Linked DNA regions of Homo sapiens: regions 1, 3, 4, 5, 6 and 7 are each linked to region 2. The links are contacts of gene promoters, found by promoter capture Hi-C in blood cells and fetal thymus (Javierre and others, 2016). All regions are on one chromosome and are shown on one strand. Each heading gives the region's core, a stretch centred on a gene start or on the middle of the fragment in contact. The rest is flanking DNA. Distances are from core to core; before and after follow the strand shown.

The links. Contacts are between HindIII fragments. The CHiCAGO score rates a contact against its expected background, and 5 or more counts as called.
Region 1: a fragment that was not itself captured here is called in contact with the fragment with the promoter of MAB21L2 in region 2 in 1 of 17 cell types (megakaryocytes); the score reaches 6.2 in megakaryocytes.
Region 3: a contact is called between a fragment that was not itself captured here and the fragment with the promoter of MAB21L2 in region 2, in 1 of 17 cell types (megakaryocytes). The highest score is 5.3, in megakaryocytes.
Region 4: a fragment that was not itself captured here is called in contact with the fragment with the promoter of MAB21L2 in region 2 in 1 of 17 cell types (megakaryocytes); the score reaches 7.4 in megakaryocytes.
Region 5: a fragment that was not itself captured here is called in contact with the fragment with the promoter of MAB21L2 in region 2 in 1 of 17 cell types (megakaryocytes); the score reaches 5.4 in megakaryocytes.
Region 6: a contact is called between a fragment that was not itself captured here and the fragment with the promoter of MAB21L2 in region 2, in 3 of 17 cell types (megakaryocytes, endothelial precursors and M1 macrophages). The highest score is 9.8, in megakaryocytes.
Region 7: a fragment that was not itself captured here is called in contact with the fragment with the promoter of MAB21L2 in region 2 in 1 of 17 cell types (megakaryocytes); the score reaches 5.1 in megakaryocytes.

What each region holds. Positions count from the first base shown.
Region 1 is chr4:150,367,851-150,370,728 of GRCh38, forward strand. All of the region lies in intron 47 of LRBA (LPS responsive beige-like anchor protein), which reads right to left. Among named protein-coding and RNA genes, the nearest start is that of LRBA-AS1, 210 kb to the right of the region's middle. The HindIII fragment of the contact is 4,698 bases long and covers 1-2,878 here.
Region 2 is chr4:150,580,573-150,583,804 of GRCh38, forward strand. MAB21L2 (mab-21 like 2) reads left to right here and starts at 1,579. Exons shown (of 1, transcript NM_006439.5): 1 at 1,579-3,232. The coding sequence starts at 2,458. All of the region lies in intron 40 of LRBA (LPS responsive beige-like anchor protein), which reads right to left. It overlaps LRBA-AS1 (LRBA antisense RNA 1), which reads left to right. Exons shown (of 2, transcript NR_149035.1): 2 at 1-662. The HindIII fragment of the contact is 6,793 bases long and covers 1-3,232 here.
Region 3 is chr4:150,425,236-150,428,136 of GRCh38, forward strand. All of the region lies in intron 46 of LRBA (LPS responsive beige-like anchor protein), which reads right to left. Among named protein-coding and RNA genes, the nearest start is that of LRBA-AS1, 150 kb to the right of the region's middle. The HindIII fragment of the contact is 1,368 bases long and covers 931-2,298 here.
Region 4 is chr4:150,407,745-150,410,940 of GRCh38, forward strand. All of the region lies in intron 47 of LRBA (LPS responsive beige-like anchor protein), which reads right to left. Among named protein-coding and RNA genes, the nearest start is that of LRBA-AS1, 170 kb to the right of the region's middle. The HindIII fragment of the contact is 1,186 bases long and covers 1,139-2,324 here.
Region 5 is chr4:150,346,302-150,349,342 of GRCh38, forward strand. All of the region lies in intron 48 of LRBA (LPS responsive beige-like anchor protein), which reads right to left. Among named protein-coding and RNA genes, the nearest start is that of LRBA-AS1, 230 kb to the right of the region's middle. The HindIII fragment of the contact is 7,057 bases long and covers 1-3,041 here.
Region 6 is chr4:150,328,947-150,332,175 of GRCh38, forward strand. The region is part of intron 48 of LRBA (LPS responsive beige-like anchor protein); the gene reads right to left. Among named protein-coding and RNA genes, the nearest start is that of LRBA-AS1, 250 kb to the right of the region's middle. The HindIII fragment of the contact is 1,323 bases long and covers 643-1,965 here.
Region 7 is chr4:150,718,459-150,721,392 of GRCh38, forward strand. All of the region lies in intron 36 of LRBA (LPS responsive beige-like anchor protein), which reads right to left. It also overlaps the pseudogene ZBTB8OSP1. Among named protein-coding and RNA genes, the nearest start is that of MAB21L2, 140 kb to the left of the region's middle. The HindIII fragment of the contact is 836 bases long and covers 1,168-2,003 here.

The DNA of each region.
Region 1 (2,878 bases), core at 228-2,727, 210 kb before region 2:
TTCTCCTTATACTGATAATAAATGGCATCTTAAAAAGGCAACATAAACGCATTTAAGATTGTCAATATAATCCCTAAACTCTATCTCTGGATATTTTCTGTAACTTTAGAAATGGTAATATTAAAAAGACATAGACTAAGAAATAGTATATTACTGTATTTTTAAAAGGCCACCATGTGCTATAAAAAAGGATTGAAAGCAACACAGGGACAGTGAGGTATCCTTCAAACTCAGCCATTAATAACTCAAGGGGGTTAATCCTCATTCTCTCAAGGTGCCGGTTCCAGATTTTCACAATATGCTATGCTGCTGTAGTCCTCCGAGATTTCAGTGCTCACTTCATAATACCCCCAATTCACAGTTTACCTTCGGAGAAAACTACTGTTCATTATCTGAGCTCCAGAAAATGTTCCCATCAGTGGTACTACTTTAACACAAGATTTAAAAACTCAGATACTTCCTTAAAAAGGAAAAAAAAATACTATAAAGCAAAATTGTCCATTAAACTACAATTTTTTAGAAAATGAAAGGTTGTTTTATACCCACCATATGGCATCACATTATCACTCTGGACAGCACATACAGAGTACTGGCTAACAGTCTAACAAAAGTTAAATTTAAACAGCATCTAAGTTAGAACATTACTGAAGCATTTTCAGGCTATGTATATACAAAAACATTTAAAATTTACTTTTCATTATGTAACAATCTAAGGAATACTGTATCTTCACTAAAGGTAACAACGATCAGTTGTTTATTTAAAAAAACAAATCACTAAAATGTTTGAAAACCAGTCCACTTTTCATGTGGATGTTTATATTTCACTTAATCATCCTTCTTGGAAAGACAGCTCTAAAGGAAGAAAATACTGAGAACCAAATCCTGTTTAACTTACACAAGGTGATGTCAAGTAATTTAAAAAACATATTCTAAAAAGAGCTTCTTCTGTACACATCTAAAGACATTACTGCATTATCTAATTGTTCTCTTCCTCTCACTCATGTTAACAGGATAGATGTCTTTTTGTGTACCATATTTGGTTTCACTGGCACATAGCCTGAAAACAGATTAAACTGTTTGGAGTGTTCAAATATCTGATGGTGTATGGACTGTGGGAATAAGAGACTGGAGACTCAGAAGCTGATAGTTCCCAAACAGCTATTTTCCTTCTTTCTTTTTTAAAAATAAATGAACCTTGAGTCAGATTAATTAAACACTGGTTATAAGACTCAATATTCCTAGTAGATAAATAGATGTTTGAAGACTTAGTCAATTTCAGGCCCAAAAGTAAGTATTACTAGGTGTAAAATTTGTTTAAAAGATGTCATTAAAATATTACATATTAAGGTGGTCCTCTTAATATAATCTTGATGTCTTTTAACTATCTCATTCTTTCTCTTCTCCATGGACATCATGTTTTGCAAAATGTTATCAAATAATCAAATGTTATAAAATAATCTCACAAAGATGCATATATCTGCCAGACCTTCTGATTAGGAGATAACCAGTGGTGCTAACCTGATATAATTTAGCTGAAAGCACAAGAAGGTTGAATTTAACCCAGGTTGCCTTTTTATAGGTAAATGTACTATGTTCAGAATGCTTAGAAATTGCTGTGGTGGCTCTAATGGTTCAACAACCTTTGGCTGAGACCCACTGAACACATACAAACATATGATGCCTAAAAAAATATACTTTTTTTTTTTAGACCAAACACCTTTGTTTCAGGTACTGCTAAGAAATATAAGAGCTGCAAAATAATTATAACAAAATGCTTACTTATGCAGAATTTTAACTTTAGATTCATTGAAAGAACTATCAAACTTTTTGACAGATTTTGCTAAGTATTGTACGTATATAAAAAAGAAAATATAAATGAAATATTTGTAAAATGTTTGAGAGTCTACCTCTTCTGAAATGCTTCCTGATTCAAAGGTGTTGATTTCTGTGTTTCTCCATATAGTACTGTCCTCCATGCCTTTATAAGAGCATTAGTGAGGCAGCATTTTTTAAAGAGTCCTCCATTATTACATTTGAACTTTTCTTCCAAGTATCATACTACAAATTATGATGCTGACATGTTCTTGATCTTTTTGACAGCCTTGTACACGTGCCTTAGGGCTCCCAGTGCTTTCTTCATGACTGCTCAATTTCTAGCCTCTTCTAGTTTAACTATGATACTTCTATCTCAACGCCTCCACTGTGATAACTCTATCTTAAAACTTACCAAAATACATTAAGAAATAATGTTTTGTGGAGTGGAAGACAGTTTGGCAGTTTCTTACAAAACTAAACATTCTCTTACCATATGATCTAGCAGTTGCACTCTTTGGTACTTACCCAAATGAGAGGAAAATTTATGCTCACACAAAATCCTTAACATAAATGCTTACAGAAGTTTTATTCACAATTGCCAAAAGTTGGAAACAACCAAGATATATTTTAGTAGGTGAATGGATAAACAAACTATGGTCCATCCATACAATGGAATATTATTCCAAAATAAAAAGAAATGAGCTATCAAGTCACACAAAGACATAGAGGAATCTTAAATGCATGCTACTAAATGAAAGAAGCCAATCTGAAAAGGTTACATACTATATGATTCCAACTATATGATACATTGGAAAAGGCAAAACTATGGGGACTATAAAAAGATCAGTGGTTGCCAGGAGTGGAGGAGGAAGGGGGAATGAATAGGTGGAGCATAAGGAATTTTTAGGACAGTAAAACTATTCTGTATGGTACTATACATTTGTCAAAACCTACAGGAAGTCTAACATAAAAGTGAACCCTAATATAAACCAAAGACTTTAGTTAATAATAATGTATTGATATTGGCTCATCAGTTATAACACAGTAAGTGTACCACACTAAT
Region 2 (3,232 bases), core at 329-2,828:
ATTTTTATTTTTATCGCATAACCCAGGGCTGGAATATAACCTCCCAAATCAAACTAAAAATAATCACATCTACCTGAAATACGTTAAAAAGATTCAGAATCCAGACATCTTAGGTTCATACATAAACCCTCAGTATCAAGCAAATCAGAAACAATGTTCTAGCTTTTTTTTTCACCCAAAAGTATGGAAAGGCTACAGTGGGTACAACTCGTTTAGGATAATACATATACTAAAAGCACATGCATGCCTTTCATTGAAATGCCTAGGGAGGAGTGAAGCCATCTGTGTAATCAATAACAGGATAGTTATAGATTTTTGTGGCAGTGAAGTCTTTTAAAAGCAAGAGTCAATTATGAAAATAAAATCATTTTACAAATGAAACTCTGTACCTGTACCCCCTAAGAATACATTCACAATTAGATTTACAACAGTAAGATTTTAAGAAAACTTTAGGTTTACATTTACTTGCCTTGTTTTTCATTAAGTTTGAAGCAATTTTAGTAGCTTATTTTAAAAGTATATCCTACTAAGTTCTACGACATGTAAGTTTGCACCATTTCTCACAACTTAGATATTTTCTCTCTCGTAACTAGTTAATTCTTGTAACGATAAAATAATGGTATTAAATACATGTGAATCTTAATTATGAAATAATTATCAAACAAGGTGCTTGGACTAGTTTTTGCCCTGCCCTGTTTTTAAACAGCATATCGAAATTACTAAAAAGAGATTTATAAACCCTCACCTTATATCCACTCCAACCCTCACTGGTGCACATATACAGCAACTGCTCTGATTCTTGGCAACAATGGGAGGGGAGGGGAAGAGAAAGGAGGATGACTTTAAAGGAGGAAAAAACCTGGAAAAATTAGGTCCTTTCCCAGATTCCCCTTTCGCTTCCCATTTGCCTTCAAGCCAAAGTAATTTTGTTACAGTTTGCACCTTCTACTACACAATGTTGATAGAATCATTTAAAAAAAAAAAAAGTGAACCTTTCTGAACCATTGCTACTCTCCCTCGCGTTATTCCAGCCATCTCCAGGAGAGTCCCTTCTATATAAACTCTTTTTCTTCTTTGCTACTGATAAGAGAGGAGGATAAAGAGGAACGGCTGTAAAATGTGTGCAAGCATTTGACTCCCATTATCTCCTCCTATTTTCTTACTTCTCTCTTTACCCTGTTTCTTTATCAAGTGCAGTGGTGGCTGCTACCGTTCGCCAAGCGTGCCTGTCTTCTCTCTCGGATTGGCTAAAGCACTGACAGCTCGGATAGCGATTGTAGGAACTGAAGCTCCACCCCCTCATGATGGCCCTGGGACCATTCATAAACTAAATAACTCCAGGAAACAGCGAGGGAGAGAGAGAAAGAAAGAGAGAGGGAGAGAGAGAGACAGAGAGAGTTAGAGGAAAGAAGAGAGAGCGAGCACGAGGAAGGGGGGCGGGGGAGAGAAGCAGGGGGAGAGCGGGGCGAGAAAGAGGTCGGAGGGGAGAGGAGGGGGAGAGACGACTCAGAAAGTGGAATCTGTAAAAGCAAGCTAGAGGAGAAGAAGGAAAACCCTGAATCGTTATAACTACACCCCAGATGCAACGCAAGCAACGACTTCGTCACACTAAAACGGATTTTGTGAGGGCCAAAAGTATAAATTACGAAGCAGAAATGATTATCAAACAACTTCCAGCGGTTTGCACCTAAAGAAACACAAGGAGAACCCACTACAAACAAACAAACCCAGTCCAAACAACGCCTCCAGTAGGAAAAGAGGAAAACTGCGATAACACGACCCCCCGAGAAGAGACGAGACCAACACGCTGAGACTGTGGGGCGTCAGCAAACCTCCAAGTGCACGGCGGACTGAGTTGTACTTCGCAGCTCTCTGGACATTAATTACCTCCTGCACCTTCCATTTGGGGGAGGGTGAGGAAGAAGGCACTCACCTACACTGAGCGAAGAAGTCCTATCAGCGTGGAAGAGAAGTTTAAGAATGAACCACTGAATGTTTCGCTTTTATTTTTAAATTTACTTTGGCACTTAAAAAACCTCATTTCCAGATTTCTGGACAATCTCGGCTGCAGACATCTAAGCCTAACCTTTTGGTATCCTGAGTTTTTTCCCTCTCCTTCTCCTTCCTCACGCCCACCCCGCTTCTCTCGCACACGGTCATCTTTACATATCAAGAGAAAGCAAAAAGGTTCCAAGAGGTACTTTTCTTTTTAGAAAATCACCTTTTCTCCCCTAATTCTTCTGCAGAAGAAAAGAGGTTTCGAAAGAGGGAAAAGGAAAAAACAAGCCGGCTACGGTATCAGCCGGTCAGCCCAGGTGGAAAACGAGAGTGAAAGTAGGGCTTAACGGGGAGCGCACCGCCTCTTTCGAAAGCCGCTGGGCCACCACCAGTGCGTGAGCCTTGGATCCCTCAACGTATTGCGAGACGCCGGTGTATAGCCCGGACCTGTGCCCCAACATGATCGCCGCTCAGGCCAAGCTGGTTTACCAGCTCAATAAGTACTACACTGAGCGCTGTCAGGCGCGCAAGGCGGCCATCGCCAAAACCATCCGAGAGGTCTGTAAGGTGGTCTCGGACGTGCTCAAGGAAGTGGAGGTGCAGGAGCCTCGCTTCATCAGCTCCTTGAGCGAGATCGATGCCCGCTACGAGGGGCTCGAGGTCATTTCGCCCACCGAATTTGAGGTGGTGCTCTACCTAAACCAGATGGGCGTCTTCAACTTCGTGGACGACGGCTCGCTGCCCGGCTGCGCAGTGCTCAAACTGAGCGATGGGCGGAAGCGGAGCATGTCTCTCTGGGTCGAGTTCATCACGGCGTCGGGCTATCTCTCAGCGCGTAAGATCCGCTCGCGTTTCCAGACGCTGGTGGCCCAGGCGGTGGACAAGTGCAGCTATCGGGATGTGGTCAAGATGATCGCGGACACCAGCGAGGTCAAGTTGCGCATCAGGGAGCGCTATGTGGTGCAAATCACTCCGGCGTTCAAGTGCACCGGGATCTGGCCTCGCAGCGCGGCACAGTGGCCTATGCCCCACATCCCTTGGCCCGGCCCCAATCGGGTGGCCGAGGTCAAGGCCGAAGGGTTCAACTTGCTCTCGAAGGAGTGCTACTCGCTGACCGGCAAGCAGAGCTCGGCAGAGAGCGACGCCTGGGTGCTACAGTTCGGGGAGGCGGAGAACCGCCTGCTGATGGGCGGCTGCCGAAACAAGTGCCTCTCAGTGCTGAAGACTCTGCGGG
Region 3 (2,901 bases), core at 365-2,864, 160 kb before region 2:
AGAACAGAACAGTCAGCTCTGGATAAAAAACACATGTTCAGCAATTCTTTAAAACATCAGTGGAAAATGATAAGTAAACAACACTGACAGAAGACAGATACATTTACAATTCACGTTTTCTTCTGGCTTGCTCAAAATAATTTTAATCTCTATCACTTAATTAGGTAGATGGGTCTTAGAGGCAGGTAACATGGCCAACATTTAGTGTATCATCTCCTAAGATAAAAATTTGAAAGGTTCAACCAGAGGTTACACCACAGTTCAGGATAAGCTCATTGCTTTGATCACAAATCCCAAGGCTTTCATGGCATAATGACAAGGATTGGTTGTGACCACACATATGCTTTAGTTTTCTTTATTAAGGTATAATTTCCACTGATATGAACAACCTTTGCAGCCAGGCTGTATGATTCTCCTTTTAATAGTCACCAATTCTATGCACTGAACTAAACCCACCACTTCAATATATTGGGGCAAACATACCAACTACTAATCTATCAACCAAAAAGAAACAAGATAATCAAAATAGAAATAAAAATGAAGAAGCTCCTTTTTAGTTAAAATTAAATATTTATTTCATTTTTCCTAAATATGAAATATTGACAACTCAAATAGAAGCATGATAAATTAGAAGTTAACTAATTTAAGGTGCACTGCTTAGGGACACTGATGGTAAAAAAATGTGAAAGCAAAATTTTAGCTTTTCACCACTGAAAAAATGATTTAAAAAATTGAAAATAAGCTTTCTTAATTAACAAAAAAGAGCTGATTAACAATATATTATAAAAATATAATGTGCATGTTTTGATACATTTTAATTTTCAAGATTTATTTTGTTAGCCCATAATAAAACTTTTAAAAAATTCACTAGAGATCAAGAACATTGAATTGCATTTATAATAGTTATTTTAAATCAACTGCATATCTGAAAGCTTTCAAGTTGATATTTAAATTTAGTTTGTCCTAATTTGGTAGATAAAATGCTGTTTTTTCCTACAGTAAAAGAAAAACAATCATTTTCAAAATTGGAAAAGAAAAAATAATCTATAATCCTTCCAGACCAACCCCATAAATATTATGTGGTTTTTAGATATTATAAAACTGTTATTTCAAATGCATTACAATAAAGAAAAATCATGGATTACAAATCAATAGATAAATGATAATCTATTTCAATCTGATATAGTAGAAAAAATAATTGGGTTTAAGTCTTGTCTACTCAACTTACTGTCACATGTACTCAAATTAATTTAATTTCTGTGACCCTTACTCACCTCAATTGCCATTTCAAAATCACAGGGTTTGCTGTGAGGCTCATATGGGATAATGCGGAATTCTATATATACATAAGATATTATTATCATTAGTAGGATTCATGATAAAAATCCCAAATTACAGACTCAACTTGCCTAAATCCTAAAGCCAATAGGTCATTCACTGAATTATGCCCATTTATAAAAGCATTTAACATAACTCTAAGAATACTTAACAAAACTTACTTTCAAAAATATATATGCCCACAAAAATATTTGAGACTTAATACTTCCTGCCAAATAACTATGACATTCAAAACAAATATATTATTTTTTTTATTAGCAATGACAGTAGGGTTTAACATGCTTCATATTATGATAAATATCCCCAATAATTTATGGTTCTTTCTTGCTTTCAACACATTTTTCACTTCCATGTTTGAAATGGACATCTCCATTGGGCCTTTTGCTGTTCTAGACCCTTATCTCCAAATAAATTATAATTTGGAAAGAAATAATGGGCAATAATAATGCAAACAAAAAGTGAGCTGTAACTGCCGTAAGAGAAGATGCAAATAAAATTTCTGGAATAAGTGGTAGACATATATTTAGTATGGGAGAAGAACCACTTATCTCAGTATCTAAGAACGCATTAATGAACAGTCTACATTTTCTAGTTGAACAAAAAATATGATAAGATCACCAGTCAAAAAACAAATCACACTTGACATATGCATGCATTTTTATAATTCTGGAAGACATGAATATTTTCCAAATGCCTTAATAGGTTTTTAATTTTCCTGTATAGTATGTAAATAGCATGAGAAGAAAAATATTCAGGGTTTCAAGTAATTTTTATCAATGAGCAAAATGTAGTTCATTGTAGACACGAGTACAAACTTCAATACTTAATTAGCACAAAGTTTCATCATTTAACCTACTGATACTTGAAGAAAAGGGCTAAAGAGATGTGGCTAAATTAACAAATCGCAAGTTATCTATAAGTTACGTATAAAAAGCAAGGATAAACAGACATATTTGAGAAAGCTTGAGCTCACTGATGAAAAAGAAGAGAGGCTGGCAAAAAACAGAAGGAAGGAGGGAAGATAGGAAGGAGAAAGGAATGAGCACTTAAGTTGAAAATGTGCAAATGCATGAATAAGGATAAGATTTTAATTTTACTTTCTTTCAGCATTTTTTAAAACTCTAAATTATTAAAATGGTGTCTGAGAACCGGATGCAGATTTTTTTTACTAAGAAAATAAAATTACTAAATCATCGAAGTTTAAGTTTTTTAAAAAATAAATACATTAAGAAATACATTGCCATCAATTATGTTCTATTAACTGTAGCTAAGCATTTTCTTATAAACGGGCCTAATGTTGATGATATCAGCATCCATGGAATGTATTAACATGGTAGAAGATGTGCTGCTAGGGAAAGAAGAAACCTAATTTATCTTCAGATTGCAGACCTCTGGGATTTCTGAGGTAGTAAAGGGAAGTCAAAGGTCTCATGTTTTACAAATCTCACAAGCCACAAAACTATTCTATGATCACCTCTACTGTATATTATTATTTAACATGCATATGTAATTTAAAACTTTTTAAGGGTTAAATATTAAATTATATATGAGTTCATATAATAT
Region 4 (3,196 bases), core at 482-2,981, 170 kb before region 2:
AAAATACAGAAGGGGATTTTGGAAAATATTTGGAAACCAAGCAATGCACTTCTAAACAATCCATAAGCCAAGAAAGAAACCACAAGAATATTAAGAGAATTGCATAAGCTGAATGAAAACAAGGAAACAAAATATCAAAATTTATGAGATACAGCAAAAACCACACATAACGAGAAAATTGTAATTGGAAAACCTGATATTGGAAGAGAAGAACTCAAATAAAAAAACTAGGTTTCCAATTTAATAATCTAGTTAGAGTAAACTAAACCCAAAGCAAGCAAAAGGAAAGAAAGAATGAATATTAGAGCGAAAACTCAACGAAAGAGAACACAGAGACACCATAGAGGAAACCAGTGAAACAAAAAGTTGGCTCTTTGAAAAGACAACAAAATTGACAAACCCTTTTAGCAAGACTGAGCCAGAAAAAAAGATAACACCAATTACCAAAAATCAGTATAAATGAGGTAATATCATTACTAACCTTAGAGAAATTAAAATGATAATAAGTCATACTATGAACAACTTTATAAAAATAAATTAGTTAAATGGACAAATTCCAAGAAAGAAATAAATTACTGACATAGATTCAAGAAAAAATTTAAAAAAAATCTTGATAGACCTATAAAAACTAAAAAAACTGATTTGGTAATTTAAAATCTTCTCACAAAGAAAAGGCCATGCCTAAATAGCGTCAGTGGTGAATTCCACCAAACATTTAAAGAAGAAATAATATGTAGCATTCACAAAGTCCTTCAAAAATATAGAGGAAGAAGGAACACTGCCATGTCTCATTCTATGAGACTAGTATTACCCTGATAATAAAGTCAGATGAGGATATCACAAAAAAACTGCAAACTAATATTCCTCATAAATATAGATTCAAAAATCCTCAAAAGTAGTAATTCCTCAAGAAAATACTAACAAAACAAAAATCCAGGACATATCAAAAGAACTTAAAACATATAAGTGTAATATATTTGTGAATGCAAGGCTGGTTTAACAACCAAAAATCAATTTATATAATATATCATATTTCACTTTTTTGTTTCTTGCTTGAAAATCTTTCCCTATTCCAATATCACATAGAAATTCTCCTGTATTATCTTGTTAAAGTTTATAGTTTTACCTTTATATATAAAGCTTTAATATACTTTCATTTTGTTTGTGGCATAAAATAAGGTTCCAATTAAAATTTTTTTCCCCATATATCTGCTATAGGTTGAATTGTGGCCACTCCCCCCAAATTTTTATGTTAAAGTCTCAACCTAACAGCACCTCAGAAGGTGGCCTTATATGAAAATTGGGTCATTACAGAAGTCTTTATTTAGGATAGGCCATACTGGAGTAGGGTGAGTCCTTAATCTAATATGAATGGTGTCCTTATTAAAAGGAAAAATTTGGACAGACAGACATGCATAGAGGGAGGATGATGTGAAGAGACACAAGGAGAAGACAGCCACATATAAGCCAATCAGAGGGCTAGAACAGGTCCTTCCCGTACAGCATTTAGGAGAAATCAACCCTGCTAAACTTTGATTTCAGACCTCTGGACTCCAAACCTGTGAGACAATAAATTTCTGTTGTTTCTACCCAGATAATCATACTTTGTTACAGAAGCCCTAGGAAACTAATAAAATAACTATTTATCTCAGAATCCTAAATTGAAAAGTCCTTCCTTTCCCCACAGTTCTGCAATACTAGCTCTATAATGGATGAGGTTTCTTTACATATCCTGGCCTATTTCTGGGTTCTCTGTTCACTTTTCCTGTACTACTTCTCCTTCCCTAATTACTATAGCTTTATAATAATTTTTGATATCTAGTAAAGCAAGTCCCTCTGAAATCTGCTCTTGTTCCCCAAAAGGATTTTGGCCATAATGGTCCTTTGCTCTTTAAAATCAGTTTATCATCTTCCAACAAAACAAAGTAAACCTACTGAATGGTTTTTATATTTTTACATTGACTTTATAAATAAATGTGGGGAGAATTAACAATCTATCAATATGGCAAATCTTTTTTCCTCTTATTTAGGTGTCCTCGTTTTTTAACTAAAAATTTCACAGTAAATTACATATCACGGCTAAAAGCAAACCAAACAATAGTAATTTTAGACTCTTCATACCTATCTCCCTACATTCCCAGGGAATTTAAATCCAACCACTGCACTGGGAGTAAAGAGGATGAAGACATGAGAGGGAGATACCCTCAGCTAACAATAATTATTTCCAACTGCAGCCACCACGGCTGTTTACATTCTTGGCCACATCATTATCAATATGGGAAATGAAAAGGAAACAATAACAACAAAAAAAACAATTTGAAAAAAGCTTCTGGCATTTCAATTCCAAAAATTTTTTTTTTTAAATGTTGTCTGGTCAGTGGTCTTAAGAATGTCATTTCCCCACTCTTGTTCAGTGGGGGGCATGACAGTCTGTCTCTATGCTGTCATCACTTGAGAAGTGTAAATTTTCCATTCAGAGAAAAAAATTATACAAGATTGACCTAATTCATTCAGAGGTGTAAGATCTATAAAGGTTTATGTTGAATAGATTTAAATTTTAGCAATGATAGAAACAAGTTTAGATTTTATTTCTTTATCAACCTTGTTTTTTCCTGTCAGGCAATACTATGAAAGGACAGCATCTCTTTTAACTTGTCCACATATTCTCTGATGATAATGGAAAGCAGATAGTATATTCATTTTATTTTTCTTTACCTTGTTAAGTGAGTACTATTTGTGTCACCATTATGAAATAGTAGAGGAGACAAAAGCTATAGAACATACACAAAAGTAAATGTGATTTTAACTGGTAACCTTAGGACAATTCAACAAGAGAACGCTTCCTTTGCTATATTAATGCCACCTCCAGGCCTTGAGAAGCTTTCTGTTTCAACAAGGTATCAAAGAGAAGGTAATCTCCAAATAGGGATATTGTCTCTTATTCATCGAATCTAATAGTGCTGGTCCATAAGCAAGCACCCAATAAATACATGTTAAATGAATGAACTATTATAATTTGAATCAATTATGTATATTATGTATCTTTTGGCTAAAACAAAATGCTCTATTTTTAAAGGTCAACTTTTAGTGATTCTCCCCAGAGTATGGTTTTCTTTGTCTCTTATTCAACATGAAACTTGAAGGTTATAAGAGGCAGTATAATATGTAGGTCCAAACATTGACATTATATCATAAG
Region 5 (3,041 bases), core at 305-2,804, 230 kb before region 2:
TATAATATAAAAACAAATTAAGGTGTGATGTGTGGAAGACTATCAGTTAAGGCTTAATTTTCTCATAATTAACTACTTAGGATTGTGGTAAAGAAAAGGAAGTCAAACTTAAAGCAAAAGTTTTAACGGTCTTTAGCAAAAGTTGATCATAAAAAATAAATATTAAAAACTTATCTGTGGCCGGGTGCGGTGGCTCATGCCTGTAATCCCAGCACTGTGGGGGGCCAAGGCTGGCAGATCATGAGGTCAGGAGTTCGAGACCAGCCTGGCTAATATGGTAAAACCCGTCTCTACTAAAAATACAAAAATTAGCCGGGCATGGTGGTGCATGCCTGTAATCCCAGCTATCCAGGAGACTGAGGCAGGAAAATCACTTGAACCTGGGAGGCGGAGGTTGCAGTGAGCCAAGATTACACCATTGCACTCCAGCCTGGCAACAATGTGAGACTCTGTCTCAAAAAAAAAAAAAAAAAAAAAAAAAAAAAACACTTATTTGTTATGATGCTTCTTCAAAAAGTTAAACTTGGAATTATCACATAATCCAGAAATTCCATTTCTGGGTGTATATCCAAAAGAATTGAAAGCAGGCATTTGAACAGATGGTGTACATCCATACTCTTGGCCACATTGTTCATAATAGCCAAAAGATGGAAACAACCCAAAATGCCCATTGATATATAAATGGATAAACAAAATGTGGTATATATATATACACAATGGAATATTACTCAGCCTAAAGAGAAAGGAAATTGTGATACATTCTATAGCATGGACAAATCTTGAAGATATTACGCTAAGTAAAATAAGCTAGACATAAAAAGACAAATGTTGCAGCATTCCACTTCTATGAGGTATTCAGGGTAGTCAAATTTATAGAGATAAAAAGTAGCATTGTAATTGTACAGGGACTGGGGAGGAAGGAATGAGGAGTTATTGTTTAATGCTTAGAGAGTTTCAGTTTGGGAAGATGAAACATTTCTAGAGATGGATGGTGGTGATGGCTGTACAAGAATGTCAATGTTCTTGATGCCACTGAACTGTAAACTCAAAAATGGTAAAAATGGCCAGGGGCAGTGGCTCAGGTCTGTAATCCCAGCACTTTGGGAGGCCAAGGGAGGCGGATCACTTGAGTTCAGGAGTTTGAGACCAGCCTGGGCAACATGGTGAGACCCCATCTCTACTAAAAATACAAAAATTAGCCAGGCGTGGTGGCAGGCACCTGTAATTCCAGCTACTCAGGAGGCTGAGGCAGGAGAATCACTTGAACCCAGGAGGCGGAGGTTGTAATGAGCTGAGCTTGCGCAACTGCACTCCAGCCTGGGTGAAAGAGCGAGACTCTGTCTCAAAAAAAAAAAAAAAACAAAGGTAAAAATGTTCAATTTTATGTTATATATATTTATCACAATAAACAATTTTATTTGAAATTATAATGTGTTAGTTTAGGTGAAAGAAAAAATATAATTGAGCTTACACCTATATTCAAATATATATCTAATGTCTACATGGAGTATTCCCACTTTGAAATATCCTACCAAGTCAATTTAACATTTATTTTTCCATTGTCTGATCACATATGCTGAACTCAGAGTAAGAAAAGATGGTCAAAGACAAACATAAGTCTTCTAACTCTCTGCTGTACAATGCTGTAGCCTCTAGTCATCTGTGCCTATTTAAATTTATATTAATTAAAATTAAGCATTTAGTTCCTTAGTCACACTAGCCACATTTCAATGTACAATAACTACATATGGTTCATGGTTTATTAGACAGTGCAGATAGAGAACATTTCCAGCACTGCAGAAAATTCTAGACAGTGTTCTTCTAGATTAACGCACAGTAAACTTCCTTAAACAATCATTGGTGTGTAAGTGGGGACAGTGGTCAATCCAGAATAAAAATAAAAAGCCAAGCACATAGAGTGACTCATAGAGGAAATAACTAGCTGATTGAGTGTACTACTTGTTAACTAGCCATGACAAACAGATATAGGCCAAGTGACATTTTTAATCATGAAAACATTGCGTAACCTTTAATGAAAAGTAGAGCTACTTATGTCATCTTGGACATACCAAGAGACAAGTCTTTTAAGTAATAGGATCTTGCATTGAGAGAAACAGTGTTAAGCATATTTTCACAGCAACTCTATAGAACATTACAGAATTTCAAAATTAGAAATACGGAGATTGCATATAGTGACACAAAAAATATATACTGGCATAGTAAGTACAACCAATTTATGCTGGTACAAAAAACAATATGCTGGTATATTAAATACAACCAATCTCTTTTTAAGAAATTATAAAATCAGTTCTACAGTGAGAATTCAGTTATATATCAGCTATGTAGAGATATGGATAATTACTACAGGATAACAGGAGAAAACAAAAATAGCTGGTATATTTGTTGAAGAATTATGGGCATTTAACAGAATAAAGTATTACGTTCAAATATTGCCAAAATGAACAAAAAAAAGAAAGTAAATAGGCCTATGCTATTTTATCCCAACAATAAAACTATGCAGTGTTTTGTAACACTACCTGTATGTTGCTCTCACCTCAATACCTTTATGGAATCCTATGTATATTCTGTGTCATACAGTCAATTGATGTTCTGATCAAATAAAATACCCCCAGAAGGAGTATTTTCAAAAAACTGAACAACTGGAAGAGTCTTTAAGAGTTTATGTGACCCAATTCTCTGCTACCACAGTTTTTAAAACTGAAACATAGCAATTTAAAACTTGGGCAATTTAATGCAAGTGTACATCTAGTACACAGTGCTTTTGTGTGCATGCTAACTTATCTAGCACATAAGCCAGGTGATAATATGCCAATTTATTTAAATATGTACTTACATACCTTCCGCATGATCAGATCTTAGTAGAACTATAAAAGAATGCATCAAGTGCTAGGGAAAAATGGCAAATCTCACACATTACAAATAATGTTCCCTTCAAAGTGATATATAACTTGCCCCATGAATCAAAGCTCCTGGTTTCCTAAACGCAGTTGTGTTCTAAAATTGTACAGATTAAGGTTGTA
Region 6 (3,229 bases), core at 54-2,553, 250 kb before region 2:
GAGATGAAAGGTTATGGATGAGACAACTTCTGAAAATACCAATCTCCTCTTTTTAACTAACTTAACTTTAATCTTAACATTTTAATACAAGTGGCACATTACTGAAAACTCTGAGGAAAAGGCTTTTTTAAATCACGTAATATAGTGGTCTGATTATTCTATCTCAATGACAGAATAAAAGCTATAGTCTCTCACACAGGTTAAATAATAATCAATTTTCTTTCCAAGTCTTGAAGGCATCTGAAAAGGCTGTGGAATTCTCAGACACAAATGCTTTACTTCTTAACGAACCTTTCAGTTCTTGATATTAAAAATGCAACAGAAAGGACTTTTTCAAGTGTGAAAATTATAGAATAAGATTGTAAGGTAATGACTATGATCTCAAAACTTTATAGTCACACTGTATATCATCAACTGATAATTCCAGTTCTCCTCCTTGTTTTTAAAATTCATTTGCCATTTTTCATTCATCTTAATCTCTGAAGCAATTTACAGAGATTCTCCCTTCTGTGGCTTCAATGGCTTAATGCTTAGACTGGCTCTGTAGTCTACTCCTTTAATCTCTGTCTTTTGCTGACTTGTCATCCATAAATAAATTTATTACTGTGAGTTCTCTTTTAGCACTATGATTCACTCAACTTAAGCTTGCTTTCTTGGAAATTTTTTCTACTGGGCCTCAAACTCTGCCCCTATCTGAAAGGTTTCCAGTCCTATGACCAGAGGATTGCCCACTCCCATGAAGTTTGCCCTGGCCATCTTGTGTGTAAGCACATGTATGTCTTAGCACATCTAAAATCTTAAAATACTATTTTTTATTTTAGCATTTCTCAGTCAAGAATTAGATTCTTCTGATTTTTTAAAGCTCAGAATCTTGTCTACATTTTAAAAATTTTACCTGTTTCACATATAAAGTCACTAAGCCCAATCACTTCGAAGTTTATCACATTCATCACTCCTTTCTGAATCTAGGCCCCTTATAATTTCAAGTATCGATTATTATAACAGTCTCTTTGCTGGTTTTCCCCCTCTATTCAGTTTCTGCCTCCAGCATATCCTGCAGAACTAAGTTTTCCCAAACTCGCCTTTATGCAATATTTCTCTGATCAAATGTCTTCAAGTGATTCCAGTAATTAAAAGATAAAAGCTAATGCCAGGCATTGCAGGTTTTCCTATCTCTCTAACTTTTATTCTCTCATTCTATCTATTACCTTATACCAGTGTTCCTTTTCAGTCAAGCTGGTTTTCTTCTACAAATATAAGCCATCTCTGCCTTACATTTTCTACCATGCCACTGACCCTCCTAGAATGGTCACTCTTATCTTCAGTTTTCTAAGTTCTACTCCTCTCTAGAAAACCCTGTTTGAGTTCTACCAAGTTTCCCTAATCTTGTTAAATAATATTACACCTGTTCATACTGCTCATTACAGTATATACTTGATTCAGAATTTCCTGTAATGTTATTTATGTCTGTCACTACAACTACACTATAAGGCACTGGTCCCCAAACTTTTTGGCACCAGGGACTGGTTTCATGGAAGACAGTTTTTCCATGGACCTGCTTGGAGGGGTGGATATGGTTTTGGGATGAAACCGTTTTACCTGAGATGACCAGGCATTAGATTCTCATAGGGAGCGTGCAACCGAGATCCCTCGCATGTGCAGTTCACAATAGGGTTTGCATTCCGATGACAATCTAATGCTGTGGCTGATGTGACAGGGGTAGAGCTCAGGCAGTAATGCTTGCCCACCACTCACCTCCTGCTATGCAGCCTGGTTCCTAACAGGCTGTGGCTCGGCGGTCAGGGACCCCTGCTAGAAGGGTCTGAATACCATATATGTGCAACAGGTGGAACAGTACCTTGCACATAGTATTTAGACAACAAAAAATTTACTGAGTGCCTGTTATATAGCAAGCTAGCCAGGAACCCTTATGGCTCATCTATGGTTGGACTGGGGACAAAACCAAGCTTGAGAGATGAGCACACTTCTTGATGAGGGCTGACTGAGGTTGCAGGGGAGGATAAGGAGTGTTAAGTAAAGGCTGGTATTTGCTATTAGAAAGAAACCAAATGAGTCTCTCAGGGAAGCTCTGAAAGATGTCACTAAAGGCAGTAATTCTCATTTCTTCAGATCCAGCATACTGGAGGATAGGACAACACTCCATTGTCTCACTATAGTAGTAATTCTTAAGGTCAAGTGAGAAATCCTGGGGTAATATGTATGATTTGAAAAAGTCCCTCAAGTGATTATGTTTCTTGCCTTATCTTCACTTGCCTATTCAGCCCTCTATATAGAGCAATAAAAAATTTAAAGGCATAAATGAGGTGTGAAATAACAGGAAACATACAAGCATCCTTAAACCCTGTACGGTTCAGCAAGGTGGGTTGGTAATAGGGTAGCTTAACAGACATTACCAAATGCCTCAACTGCTCTTAATGAACTCTCCTTCACCTAGAGAGTTTTGGTGCTAGGTGATCACTTTTTAGACATTCAGTTATGTAACATTTTTTGTTATGGAATAGGATAATGAATCCCCACATATCCATTAGCCACCTTCAATAATTATTAAGACATTTTGGCTTTAGGTTATCTTAAAGTCGGGTCAATCTAGACAATGTCCTAGATAGATTCATTGAAAATTAACAGAGTGCTTCTGCCTTTAAACAATTTATTTTTTTTAACTTCTAATGCAAGACTATACTGAGAATAAAAGTATCTTACAATGACCAAAAATATAAGCATTAGCTGGCAGCCTTCATATTTCTTCTAAGGGGCTGAATATACTCAGACTTGCAAGGAGATGTTCAATCCTTAAGTTGCAAATTTGATTATGTGACTCAAAGCCTTCCGTTCCAAATCCTTACCCTGGGTAGCACCACAGCATAGGATTAAGTATGCAGACACTGGAATCAGACAGCCTCAGTTCAAATCTTACCACTATCACATATTAGCTCAGTGATTCTGGGCAAGGTACTTAACCTTCTGTGCCTTAATTTCCTCTTCTAAAAATTGTGATAATAACTGTCAATATTTTATTGAGTTGTGAGGATTAAATGAGATAATATAAAGCACTTAGAACAGTTCATGGCACATACTAAGCTATCAGTAAGTGTGTGATATTATTACAGCATATATATTAAAGACTTAACACAGTGCCTGGCTAGGGTTAAGCAAGCACTCAATAAATGTTACCAACTACTCATCTTTAAGATGAATAGTTATCTAGCCC
Region 7 (2,934 bases), core at 336-2,835, 140 kb after region 2:
GTCTCAAAAAAAAAATGCCTCATCCTGCAGAGTATTGTTTAAGAGCAATACAGTTAGAACATGAGCATACTTCAACCAATTGAAGTTTGTTGAAAAAGGGTAAAGACTAGCAGACATAAGAAAAAATATACGTTTGCTCTCTTAAAATTGACTCTGATGTAGAAGAGATGAACAAATATATTTTCTCTGCTAAAATTTTAAGTAACAACAATATTTATTTGGAAATATTTCTTGTTTTATTTAGAAATTTTATTATAACACCTTAAAATACTACACAATATTGCAAATCTCATAGCACAATGATTAAAATGAAAAACTATATTAGACAAAACATAAAATTAAATAGCTTAGAATAAAGCTGCAATGTATTCGAGGATTAGATCCTATTCACACGGTCTTTAGAAATCTAATAAAATTTGAACCAAATTCATAGATTAGTAATTGGGAAACAGATTACCTGGATCTGGATCCAAGTTGTAACTCTAGGTTATTTCTACTTCATGCTATTTTCAAACTTATAAAATGAGGGATAATATCAGTACTATCTCAGAGGTTTGTTGTAAGAATTAGTTGCTACTTATATATACCTCTAATAGCTACTGAAATAGCATAAGGATTCATGAAATATTAGCTACTGTTGGCACCATCATTCCTCACCGAAACTGAAAATATATATACTTTTCAGATCAAATCAATTTAATCTCTTTCACAACAGAGTTTTAGAAACATTTCTTCAATTTTCAATTCCACATTTCCACCTTCCTCGTTCTCTCTCATTCATACACCAATTCCACGTTTACTCCATCATTCTCTCTCATTCACACACAAAAGAACACACACTACCCACCACCACAATCACTAAATTTCAAATTTAAAAAAAGTGCAATCTTAACCCATAGTTACAACAAAGAAAGCATCTCCATAATTAATTAGAAAGTACACTAAGAAATAGATTCCAGGTTAGGATGGTAGGCTGATATTGCAATTACATATTTTTTCCTTCCTCATTTCCTAAAAACAAATTAGCAAAAAATAAATAAATAACAAAAAATAATTTTTAAAAATAATGAAACAATGTAAGGAATGTACCATAAATCACCAAACATTAAAAAATTGGTTGCCAAGGGGAACAAAAACAAACTGGTTCTAGAACTGAGGGAGCAACAAAGCTTAGTTCTTAATCATGTCCCCATGCCCCCAAAGCAATATTGGTAAGTTGACAAAATTCTGATAATTTTCTTAACGCCTTCAAATACAGAGAGAAACAAACTGAGTAGGTAACGTTACCTCTTTCCTCTTCTACCTGGAGATGCCAGAAAAACTTACAGAACAAATACTGGTGAAGCAAGAAATTGAAAAATGCGGCTGATTCACTAAAACAGAAGTAAACTCGACTCTACTCTCTTAAATGACTGAGGGAAATGATTCAAAGCCTAAGCACATCTTCCCATGAGAACTGTCTATAGTCTAATGAGATAGAATGAACTTGGTAGAAAATATTTAACAAAATCTTAGAAAAAAATGAGGATTTCTAAGAAAGACTCCTCACCTATTTCAAATAAGCTCTTCCTCTTCATGATAGGCCATAGGATATTCTACAAAAATCAAACTGTAGCTCAGGAGAGGGAAATATTAGCTTTACACAGAGAATGGAGAGGGAAATAAGTCACTAAGATATCCTGTTGTCTAAGCCAACAGAATATCTGCACAGAGCATTCTAAGAATGAACACAATGGAACAAAAAAGTATGGTAGTTATACAAACATATAGCACCAATCAATCAACAAATAAGTTAATACATAAATTTAAAATAAAACGTTAATATAGAAAAGACAAAACATCTGATGAAAAAGTATCTCAAGGAGTAAAAGAAAATTATTCATGATTATTTTTTCTAATGAACAACATAACAAAAACATAATGCAAATAAGATAAAACTCAAAATAAAGTGACTAAGGAAAGAGGCTGAAGTCCTAAATAAACAAAATTAGGAACAAAACATAAGCTTTATAGACATAATAAATAAATTACAAATAAATATCCCGGACAAAATAAAACATTAAAAATGTACTTACTGGTGGAAAAATAAGGCTAAGGATCAAAGAAAGTCAAGCAACTAAGGAATAACTAATAGATGTGAAAGACAAACATATATCTAACATATTATTAAGTGTTACTAAGCAAGAAAAAACAAAATAAAGTGAAAGTGGTATTTCAAAGTATAATCTAAAAAATTTTCTAAGAACTGAAGGAAAAATCAGAATCTGCTGATTATAACAAGAAACTATGTCCCAGGATAATTTGATAAATAATGTTCAATACTGAACCATATTCCTCTTAAAGAATTTTTTGGACAAAGAAATCACAGGCAGAAGACACAAAAAGCAAATCAGAAATTAAGGGAAAATATCAGACTGTCCTCTGAAAGCAACATTCAAAGTCAGAAGATAACAAAGCAATGTCTGCAAAGTTCTAAGGGAATTTAAGTGTTACCCAACAATATTAAGTCAAGCAAGGCAGTCATGGCACAGAAAGAGGGAGATGTTAGAGATTACAATTTGACTGAGGAACAGAAGGCGATCAAGGCCAACTATCCTCCAGTTAATAGGAATTATGAGTATTTGGATCATACAGCAGATGTCCAGTTACACACATGGGGAGATACTCTGGAGGAAGCATTTGAGCAATGTGCAATGGCCATATTTGGTTACATGATAGATACCAGGACTGTGGAGCCTCTCCAAACAATAGAAGTAGAAACCCAAGAAGTTTCTACTTTTCTTTTTCACTTTTTAGATGAGTGGCTTTATAAGTCCAATGCTGATGAATTCTTCATACCCTGGGAAGTGAAAGTACTTTGTATTGATCAAAGACATTTCCAATTACAATCAATTGGGTGGAGAGAAGAATTTTCATTGTCCAATCACCCTCAGG